2 separate regions of the Homo sapiens genome follow, and region 2 is linked to region 1. The links are contacts of gene promoters, found by promoter capture Hi-C in human tissues and cell types (Jung and others, 2019). All regions are on one chromosome and are shown on one strand. The core of a region is centred on a gene start or on the middle of the fragment in contact, and the rest is flanking DNA. Distances in the headings are between cores, read along the strand shown. Region 1 holds the start of EPHX3 (epoxide hydrolase 3). Region 2 overlaps CYP4F22 (cytochrome P450 family 4 subfamily F member 22).

What was found. The method cuts DNA at HindIII sites, captures the fragments that hold promoters and counts their contacts. A contact is called where the count stands out against the background at its distance.
Region 2: a fragment that was not itself captured here is called in contact with the fragment with the promoter of EPHX3 in region 1 in 1 of the 25 tissues and cell types used here (spleen).

The regions. Positions count from the first base shown.
Region 1 is chr19:15,229,534-15,234,385 of GRCh38, reverse strand. It overlaps EPHX3 (epoxide hydrolase 3), which reads left to right and starts at 1,938. Exons shown (of 7, transcript NM_024794.3): 1 at 1,938-2,417; 2 at 2,525-2,610; 3 at 2,990-3,147; 4 at 3,296-3,424. The coding sequence starts at 2,175. RefSeq lists a silencer at 1,189-1,348 and an enhancer at 1,687-2,188. The HindIII fragment of the contact is 16,546 bases long and covers 1-4,852 here.
Region 2 is chr19:15,549,592-15,554,443 of GRCh38, reverse strand. CYP4F22 (cytochrome P450 family 4 subfamily F member 22) reads right to left here. Exons shown (of 14, transcript NM_173483.4): 13 at 3,688-3,770; 14 at 2,127-3,150. The coding sequence ends at 2,973. Among named protein-coding and RNA genes, the nearest start is that of CYP4F22, 43 kb to the right of the region's middle. RefSeq lists a silencer at 2,829-2,878. The HindIII fragment of the contact is 4,717 bases long and covers 334-4,852 here.

The sequences.
Region 1 (4,852 bases), core at 689-3,188:
GATCGAAACTCCATCTGAAAAAAAAAGAAAAAGCTAAAAACGTTCCAGTGGCTGCTTCCGGGAGGAAGGGGAGGTGTAGCCACAGATCGCTGCCTTTTTCCCTACATCTTTGCGGATGGCTATTTTACAAGATGTATGTCTTCAGGCAAATGACTTCATCCTCGAATTTCAGGTTCATGATCTATACTACAGGAATGTGATTATGCTACTTAGACTTAATAGGGTTGCTCTATGGTTAAGTGATGGCTGTCCCTAAAATGTTCAAGGATATCGGGAGAAGGTTGCAAAATAGGAGGAAGAAGCTGGCTGCTTTTTTTTTTTTTTTTGAGACGGAGTCTCGCTCTGTCGCCCTGGCTGGAGTGCAGTGGCGCAATCTCAGCTCACTGCAACCTCCGCCTCCTGGGTTCACGCCGTTCTCCTGCCTCAGCCTCCCTAGTAGCTGGGACTACAGGCGCCCGCCACCACGCCTGGCTAATTTTTTGTATTTTTAGTAGAGACAGGGTTTCACCATGTTAGGATGGTCTCGATCTCCTGACCTCGTGATCCGCCCGCCTCGGCCTCCCAAAGTGCTGGGATTACAGGCGTGAGCCACCGCGCCTGGCCAGAAGCTGGCTTCTTGCAGGGACAGCAGGGCCGCAAGGCTCTGTGACTCTAGGCCCCATCACACCCGGCCCTGTCCCACTTCCTCTTTCGGCCAGAACCCCAGAACTCCAGTCATTCATAGGCCGGGTCCTCCTCGGGGGAACCAGGCCTGCCCCCTAGGAATCAGGGTATCCACGCCTCCTCGGCCCGCTCTCGGAGCCTGGGCCTCAACACCTGCAGATTGGCTCCCGGGCCAGGACCTGTCGCTTGAACATCAGTGGCCGCCGCCGTCCAATCACAGACGTACAGGGGCGGGCTGGCGGGCCTGTTGGGCCAGCAGGAGGACGGCGCCGGGCCGAGGCCGCTGGACCCGCCGTTGGAACCACAGCTGGGTGAAGTCAGTGCTGCTAGGTCTTTGGAGCCAGACCGAAGGGAGGGTCGCGCGCCCCTGGGTGGGTAGCACCAGGCGGCGGCCGTCGGCCGGGCCTCCCGAAGCCTCCTCCAGCCGCTAATACCGCCCGCGCCTCCCTCCTAGTCCTAGACCTGGCATTGCCTGTCCCTCTTCTTCGTCTTCCAGACCCTCCTGACCCGCCATATTAGGTCCCGGCCCCGCCCTCCGTCTCATTGCCCATTGCCCACCCCACCCCACCGCCCCCTCCCCGGCCTACCGTCAGCTCATTGGCCCAGGCTCCCGCCTTCTTCGCCCAATGTTAGGCCTCACCTCCTCTAGGATCCACCCTCTCCCCGCCCACCCGCATAAGCCAGGCCCACCATTCCAACTCTTTCTCCTTTTTGGCTTGTAGGCCGCACCTACTCTGCATATGCCCCGCCCCTCACTCCAGGTGTCGCCCACTTAACTGAAGATCCAGGATCCCCTCCTTAAGGTTTGTCTGGGCTCGGAATTGCCTTTTTTTTTTTTCTTTTTTGAGACGGAGTTTCCCTGTTGTGACCCAGGCTGGAGTACAGTGGCGCGATCTCAGCTCACTGCAACCTCCACGTCCCGGGTTCAAGCGATTCTCCTGCCTCAGCCTCCCAAGTAGCTGGGACTACAGGCGCCCGCCACCACGCCCAGCTAATTTTTGTATTTTTAGTAGAGACGGGGTTTCACCACGTTGCCCAGGCTGGTCTCGAGCTCTTGATCTCAGGTGATCCGCCCGCCTCGGCCTACCAAAGTGCTGGGATTACAGGCGTGAGCCACCGCACCCGGCCCGGAATTGCCGCCTTTAGACCCTCACCCACCCGCTGCTGAGTCTTCCTGGGCCCCGCCCCGGCCCTAAGCCCCGCACAGGACCTGCTAGGCCCCGCCCATTTATTTCCCCCCTTTCCAACCTCTTCCTCCCCAGCCTCCGCACCCTACCCTTGTTTCCTGTCCCTGTCGCGCCCAGGTGTTTACCTGGCACTCAGGTGAGTGGTGCGCTCTGGCTGTTTTCTGTCGGAGCCGCCCGCCTCTTCCTTCAGCGCGTCCCACAAATCCCGACGGCACGGAGGGGCCCCAGGCCAAGGGCGATGGGCCCCTGAGCCCTGACACCGCTTCGCCGCTGCTGCAGGTGCCCCTGGCCGGCAGCGCCGCCGTGGTCCCGGAGCGCGGCGACATGCCGGAGCTGGTGGTGACCGCGCTGCTGGCGCCGTCGCGCCTGTCGCTGAAGCTGCTGCGCGCCTTCATGTGGAGCCTGGTGTTCTCGGTGGCGCTGGTGGCCGCGGCGGTCTACGGCTGCATAGCGCTCACGCACGTGCTGTGCCGGCCCCGGCGCGGCTGCTGCGGGCGCCGTCGGAGCGCGTCCCCCGCCTGCCTGAGCGACCCCTCGCTGGGTGAGCACGGTTTCCTGAACCTCAAGGTGATCGCACGGGGGCGCTATCGGGGCTGCGGGGTCGCGTGGGGTCGAGACGGTTCAAGCCTCGGGAGAGAGGGTTCCCCAGGCTTCAGGCTGTGCCCTCCCCCTAGAGCTCGGGCCTGCGTCTGCACTATGTCTCGGCTGGACGAGGTAACGGACCCCTCATGCTGTTTCTGCACGGCTTCCCTGAGAACTGGTACGTCTGGGGCCAGGGGCCTGAGGCCCACGGGACTCGGGGGCAGGTGGAGCTTGGGCTCCCAAGAGGCAGGGAGGAGGGCTGTATAGATCGGGACAAGCTGAACATAGATGGGGATAGGGGTACTGAGCCAGCATACCCAGGATCCCTAGGCCCTGAAGGGACAGGACAAAGGGGTATTGAGGTTGATTGAAGTTCCCTGGATTCAGGGTGTAGCTGGCTTCAGCCTCAGCCTCTGCCTCTGCCTGGGATTCCCCATCCTCCTTTTAGGGGAAGTTTAGAGCAGGAAGGAGGGTTTGCCAATGGTTGCTGATGTGCGTAGGGTGCAGGTGCAACCTGAGGGCCCTGACTCAGCCTCCCTCCCTCGCCCGCCTGGCAGGTTCTCCTGGCGTTACCAGCTCCGGGAGTTCCAGAGCCGCTTCCATGTTGTGGCTGTGGACTTGCGAGGCTATGGCCCCTCGGATGCACCTCGGGATGTGGACTGCTACACAATCGACCTGCTGCTGGTGGACATCAAAGATGTCATCCTAGGCCTGGGTGCAGACATACCCCCATCCTAGGCGTGGCCTCCCTCATCCTGCACACACGCATACCCCCGCTTTCTCCTTGCTGGAACCTACTTCCCCCATCCCTGCTTCAGTCCTACTGGGCACCTCACTTATGCGAGCTCCTTGAATTCCCACAGGTTACTCGAAGTGCATCCTTGTGGCCCATGACTGGGGTGCCCTCCTTGCCTGGCATTTCTCCATCTACTACCCATCCCTGGTCGAGCGGATGGTTGTGGTCAGTGGTGCCCCCATGTCGGTGTACCAAGGTGTGTGTGGGAGTCCGGGACACTGGGATGTACTTATGTGCAAGGGGGCAGGGACATGTGTCTGTGTTTTCAATTCTCTGTATACCTGTCAACACATCAGGGGCTGAGGGTGCAGCAATCAACCCAGGTCCCTTCGGTTGTGGAACTCCTCATTCGGAAATTAATGACACGCCAGACCCAGTGGCTCACACCTGTAATCCCAGCCCTCCGGGAGGCTGAGGTGGGAGGATCACTTGAGGCCAGGAGTTCAAGACCAGTCTGGTCAACATAGCAAGACCCCAACTGTCTCTACAAAAAAAAAAAAAAAATGTAATTAGCCAGGCATTGGTGGTGCATGCCTGTAATCCCAGCTACTCGGGAGGCTGATGCAGGAGAATCTCTTGAACCTGGGAGGTGGAGGTTGCAGTGAGCTGAGATCATGCCATTGCACTCCAGCCTAGGCAACAAGAGCAAAACTCCATCTCAAAAAATAAATAAATAAAATAAAGTATGGCCAGGCGTGGTGGCTCCTGCCTGTAATCCCTGCACTTTGGGAGGCCAAAGCCGGTGGATTGCTTGAGCCCAGGGGTTCAAGACCAGCCTGGCCAACATGGTGAAACCCCGTCTCTACTAAAAATACAAAAAAATCAGCCAGGCATGGTAGTGCACGCTTGTAGTCTCAGCTACTCGGGAGGCTGAGGCAAGAGAATCACTTGAACCTGAGAAGTGGAGGTTGCAGTAAGCCAAGATCGCACCACTGCACTCCAGCCTGGATGACAGAGTGAGACTCTGTCTCAAAAATAAAATAAAATAAAATAAATCACAATACACTTAGGAGTAATCCACATTTTTTTATAGCACTTACAGTAACAAGGAATATGCACACAGTAACCTACTTAAGGCTCCTGGGCTTATGAAGGTTGTATTATCCCCATGTTCCAGCTGGAGGAAACTGAGGCTGGGGAGGTTAACAATGTCTATCATATCACCTGATGTTAATATGCAGCACTGTGGTCATAACTGTGCTCTCTCTCTCTCTTTTGTTGTTTTTTTTCTTTTTCTTTTCTTTTCTTTTTTTTTTTTTTTTTTTTTTTTTTGAGACAGAGTCTTGCTCTGTCGCCAGGCTGGAGTGCAGTGGCGTGATCTCAGTTCACTGCAACCTCCGCCTCCCAGGTTCAAGCGATTCCCCTGCCTCAGCCTCCCAAGTAGCTGGGATTACAGGCCACCATGCCGGGCTAATTTTTTGTATTTTAGTAGAGACGGGGTTTCACCATGTTGGCCAAGATGGTCTTGATCTCCTGACCTTGTGATCTGCCCACCTTGGCCTCTCAAAGTGCTGGGAGTATAGGCGTGAGCCACCACGCCTGGCCCCTTTTTTTTTTTTTTTTCTTGAGATGGAGTCTCACTCTGTGCAGTGCAGTGGCGCAATGTCGGCTCACGGCAACCTCC
Region 2 (4,852 bases), core at 1,443-3,942, 320 kb before region 1:
CACCATCATGTCTCACCTGGACGAATGCAGTCACCCCTAACTGATCTGCCTAGTCCCATCTTTGCTCACACTGTCTCTGTTTAACAGAGCACACAAAGTCCTGTGGAAGTCCTGGCATGGTGGCTCACACCTGTAATTCCAGCACTTTGGGAGGCTGAGGTGGGAGGATCGCTTGAGACCAGGAGTTCAAGACCAGCCTGGGCAACATGGTAAGACCCCCGTCTCGATAACAAATACAAAGCTTAGCTGGGCATGGTGGTGTGTGCCTGTGGTCCCAGCTACTCAGGAGGCTGAGGCAGGAGGATCGTTTGAGCCCAAGGAGGCCAAGGCTGCAGTGAGCTATGGTTGCACCCCTGCACACCAGCCTGAGCAACAAAGCATGACCCTGTCTCAAAAAAAAAAAAAAAAAAGTTCGTATGACAAAGCTTGTCCCTCCTCTGCTCAGAACTCCCCATTTCTGTCACAAAAAAAGTCACAGAAAAGGCCCTGTGTGAATTTACTTCTTTCTTTACTTATTTATCATTTATCATATCTCCTCCCTAGAGGTAAACTCTGGGAACCTAGGGCTCAAACAGTGCCTGTCTCACGGCAGATTGCCCAAGAAATATTTGGTAAATTAATTTTTTTTTTAGACAGAATCTCACTCTGTCGCCCAGGCTGGAGTGCAGTGGCACAATCTCGGCTCACTGCAACCTCCACCTCCCAGGTTCAAGCGATTCTCCTGCCTCAGCCTACTGAGTAGCTGGGATTACAGGCACCCGCCATCAAACGTGGCTAATTTTTGTATTTTTTAGTAGAGACAGGGTTTCACCATGTTGGCCAGGCTGGTCTCAAACTCCTAACCTCAGGTGATCCACCTGTCTCAGCCTCCCAAAGTGCTGGGATTACAGGCATGAGCCACCGCACCCGGCCTGTTGAATTAATATTATTGTCTCTAGTGACCTAGATGGAAATAGTCTACAGGCAAATGCTACCTAAAAGGAAGATGATACCACTATTATACCACCACTATATATATAATGATGGCATATATAGTGCATATATATATATTATATATGTGGTATAATAGCAGTATCATTTTCCTTTAGTGTAGCATTTTATATGTATAAAATTGCTGACATTGTCATTGCCCACCTTTTTTTGTTTGTTTGTTTTTGGAACAGGGTCTTGCTCTGTTGCCCCAGCTGGAGTGCAGTGGTGTGATCATAGCTCACTGCAGCCTCAAACTCCTCAGCTCAAGTGATCCTCCTGCCTCAGCCTCCCAAGTAGCTGGGACTACAGATGTGCACCATCACACCTGGCTAATTTTTTATTTTTTGTAGAAATGGAGTCTCACTGTGTTGCCCTGGCTGGTCTCTAACTCCTGGTCTCAAGCAATCCTCCAGCCTCAGCCTCCCAAAGTGCTGGGATTACAGGTGTAAGCCATCACGCCTGGCCCCCATCTTTTATATTCCCATATCAGGGACTACTCTACCATCAAGTTCCCTCAGCCAAATACCTGAGCATCACCCTTACCACCTCCCTCCCCTCAGCCCCCACTGCTAGATAGTCACCCCAATCCTGGCCCTTCCTGTTGTCTGGACCTCAGCTTCCCTCTTTCCCAGGGTCCCAACCCCGCAAGTCACCTCCCTGCCAGCCCTAGATCTGGCCATGTCCTGTCCTGATCCCGCTCACACACTCTCCATGGCTCCCTATTGCCCTCAGCATAAAGCCTGTGCATTTGGCCCCTTCCTTCATTCTGCCCCCACTTCCCAGATCCAACCACCTGGCCCCTGGTGAGTTCCTCAAACACACTCTGTTCTCCCTCAGCTCAGGGTATTCTCAGATGTTGTTCCTTCTGCCTGGAATACTCTTCCCTCCCCTTGTCACCCACTCAACTTCCATTCCAGCATCGGAGAAGCTCTCCCTGACCCATCCCCATCCCTCTGCTATATTCATCCAGCACCCGGGGCCTCTCCTTTGGAGCACCTGTCCTGGGTTGTAAATAAACCTTTACACGTGGAATTATTTGTTCAACATCTGTCCCCCACCCCCTAAGAAGGCAGAAAACAGGGCCTGCCTGTGGTTCTGAAGCAGTGCCAGCAAACAATATGTGATCTGTTGATGAAATAAATGAACACACAAACTGACCCCCAAAATCTGAGTTTATGTCCTAGGATAAATGGCTTTCCAGCCTCCTAGCCCGCAGCTTCGCTCAGTTGCAGAGCCCCTCATTCCCATGCTGGGGGCTCCACGTGTAAGGATCTGGCTGAGCTAGGGGTGGAGGGTGGGGTAAGTCTGCATCCTTTGCTTTTATTCTGCAAAAACAGAACACTCAGCAAAGGATCTTTGGGCAAGGGAGGAAGGAAGGGGCTTACAAGGGTCTGAGTTTACAAAACAACAACAAAAGCAAGCAGCCTCGAACCCTACGATCCAGCCTCACGCCTGAGCAGTCTGCCCGTATGAGCTGAGGGCCTCAGGAGGGTGATGTCCGAGTTAAAAGCTCTGACGTCAGGCTCCAGCTTTCCTCAGTTTGGAAGCCTGCCAGGGGTTCAGCCAGTTGGGGGGGGGTGGGGTGTGGTGGGCCCTGAGTCATAGGTGGGTCTTAGGTCCTCTGAAGGCTCAGTGGGCAAGGCCTGGAGACCTGGATCTGCAGGGGCGTGGCCTGAGGACCTCAATCCGTAGGATCCTGGGGGCGGGGCCTGAGCCCAAGGGGGCAGGGTCGACCCTGGTCCCTCAAACAGGACAGGTGCGAGAAGTCAGGGGGCGGGACCTAAGCCTCAAGGGGCGGGATCAGGCCCCCTAAGGGGAGGAGCCTTGCCTTGAGGGGCGTGGCCAGTACCACCAGGCTGCTCAACAGCGGTGCCTGGTCATCCAGGAGCTGAACCTGAACTTCGAGGGGGGTGGCCTATGCCCTCGGGATCTTTGGGGCGAGTCCTGGTCCTTTGGGGGCGGGGCCTGGACCCTCGGGAGCCGCAGGGGCGCGCCCACGCTCAGGCCCGCGGAGGCAGCGGCTCCACCTTGAGCCAGAGCCCGTTCTCCGTGCGCAGTATGAGCTCCGGCTTCCGCCGCACCTTGCGCGTTCGGTCCACGCTCAGGCGGAAACGTAGCAGTGTTAGTGCCACAACCACGCGCAACTCGGCCATGGCGAAGCTCTGTCCGATGCAATTCCTGGAGGAAGAGGGGACAGGGCTCAGGCCCAGCTTCTGTGTGAGCACTGGTCCCCGGGGGTCACATGCCTCCTTTGAAAATGAAGCAAGCATCCTGGGCTGGCTGAGGGTTAAAGTGAAACCCCACGCTGGGTGAGGGTTAAAGTGAGACCCCACGGATCGCTCAATTAATGTGACCTTGGGGTTGAGTGTCTGAATCCCAGTACAGCCTCTTACTAGCTGTGTGTCCTGGATACACAGCGCCCCCTCTGAGTCTCAGTTCCTTCATCTGTAAAAACGGGGACAAAGGCATCATAGAGCCAATGGGAGCGTGGGAGCCCAGAACTCAGGGCCTGACACACCGTTGGTGCTCAATACCCAGGATGCTATTGCAGAGTCTGATTTGGGGGCCTCCTGGCGCATTGGGGAGAGGGTGCTGGGTCTTCAGAAAGGACGCCTGGGTGCCATCTGATCTCTGCTCCTGAGAGGCACATTCCTGATCTTTCCCTGCCTCTGTTCCTACACAGCTGGCTTGGACTAGGGGAAATAGAGGGGTTACCTGGGTCCTGCAGAGAAGGGCACATAGGCCAGTGGAGAGCGCTGCTGTGGGTTGTCCGGGTCAAAGCGGTAGGGGTTGTACACCTAGGGAGGAACAGCCTGGAGATGAGTCTGGGGGCTGCCCCAGACATCCCAGCCTGGCCCCCTTCCCTGAGCCTCTGGGGGTCAGTAAAGATGGATGGGGAGCACCCCAGGGCCACCTCTTCCATTCCACCTTGCACTTCCTGCAATGCAGCCACACCTGCCTCCTTCTGTTGTTCACACGCACCAGTGAGATTCCACCTCAGGGCCTTTGCACTTGCTGTTTCCTCTGCCTAGAACAGGCTTCTCCCTGATCCTTCATCCCCTAAGTTCTCAGCTCAAACATCTCCTCGGCAAGGCCTTTCATAACCACTCGAGCTAAAGTGCCCCCTCCACCTGTTTTTCTTTTTTTTTGTTTGTTTGTCTGTCTTTGTTTGTTTGTTTGTTTGTTAGAGTCAGAGTCTCACTCAGGCTGGAGTGCAGAAGCGCGATCATAGCTCATTGCAGGCTGGGCGCGGTGGCTCACGCTTGTAATCCCAGCACTTTGGGAGGCCAAGGCAGATGGATCATCTGAGCTCAGGAGTTCAAGACCAGCCTGGCCAACATGGTGAAACCCCATCTCTACTAAAAATACAAAAAAATTAGCCAGGCATGGTGGCACACACCTGTAATCCCAACTACTCAGAAAGCTGAGGCAGGAGAATCTCTTGAACCCAGGAGGTAGAAGTTGCAGTGAGCCAAGATCGCACCACTGCACACGCTCCAGCTTGGGCAACAGAGCAAGACCCAGTCTCAAATAAATAAATAAATAAATAACCATAGCTCATTGCAGCCTCAAACTGCTGGGCCCAAGCGATCCTCCTGCCTCAGCCTCCCGAGTGGCTGGCACTGCAGATGTGCATCACCATGGCTGGCTAACTTTTTTTTTTTTTAGAAATGGGGTCTCACTGTGTTGCCCAGGCTGGGCTGAGCTGGAACTTCTGGCCTCAAACAATCTTCCCATCTTGGTCTCCCAAAGCACTGGGATTACAGACACAAGCCACCACATTGGGCCAACTTTTTCCTTTTTGGTAGAGATGGGGGGTCTCGCTGTGTTGCCCAGGCTGGTCTCAAACTCCTGGGCCCAAGCGATTCTCCCACCTTAG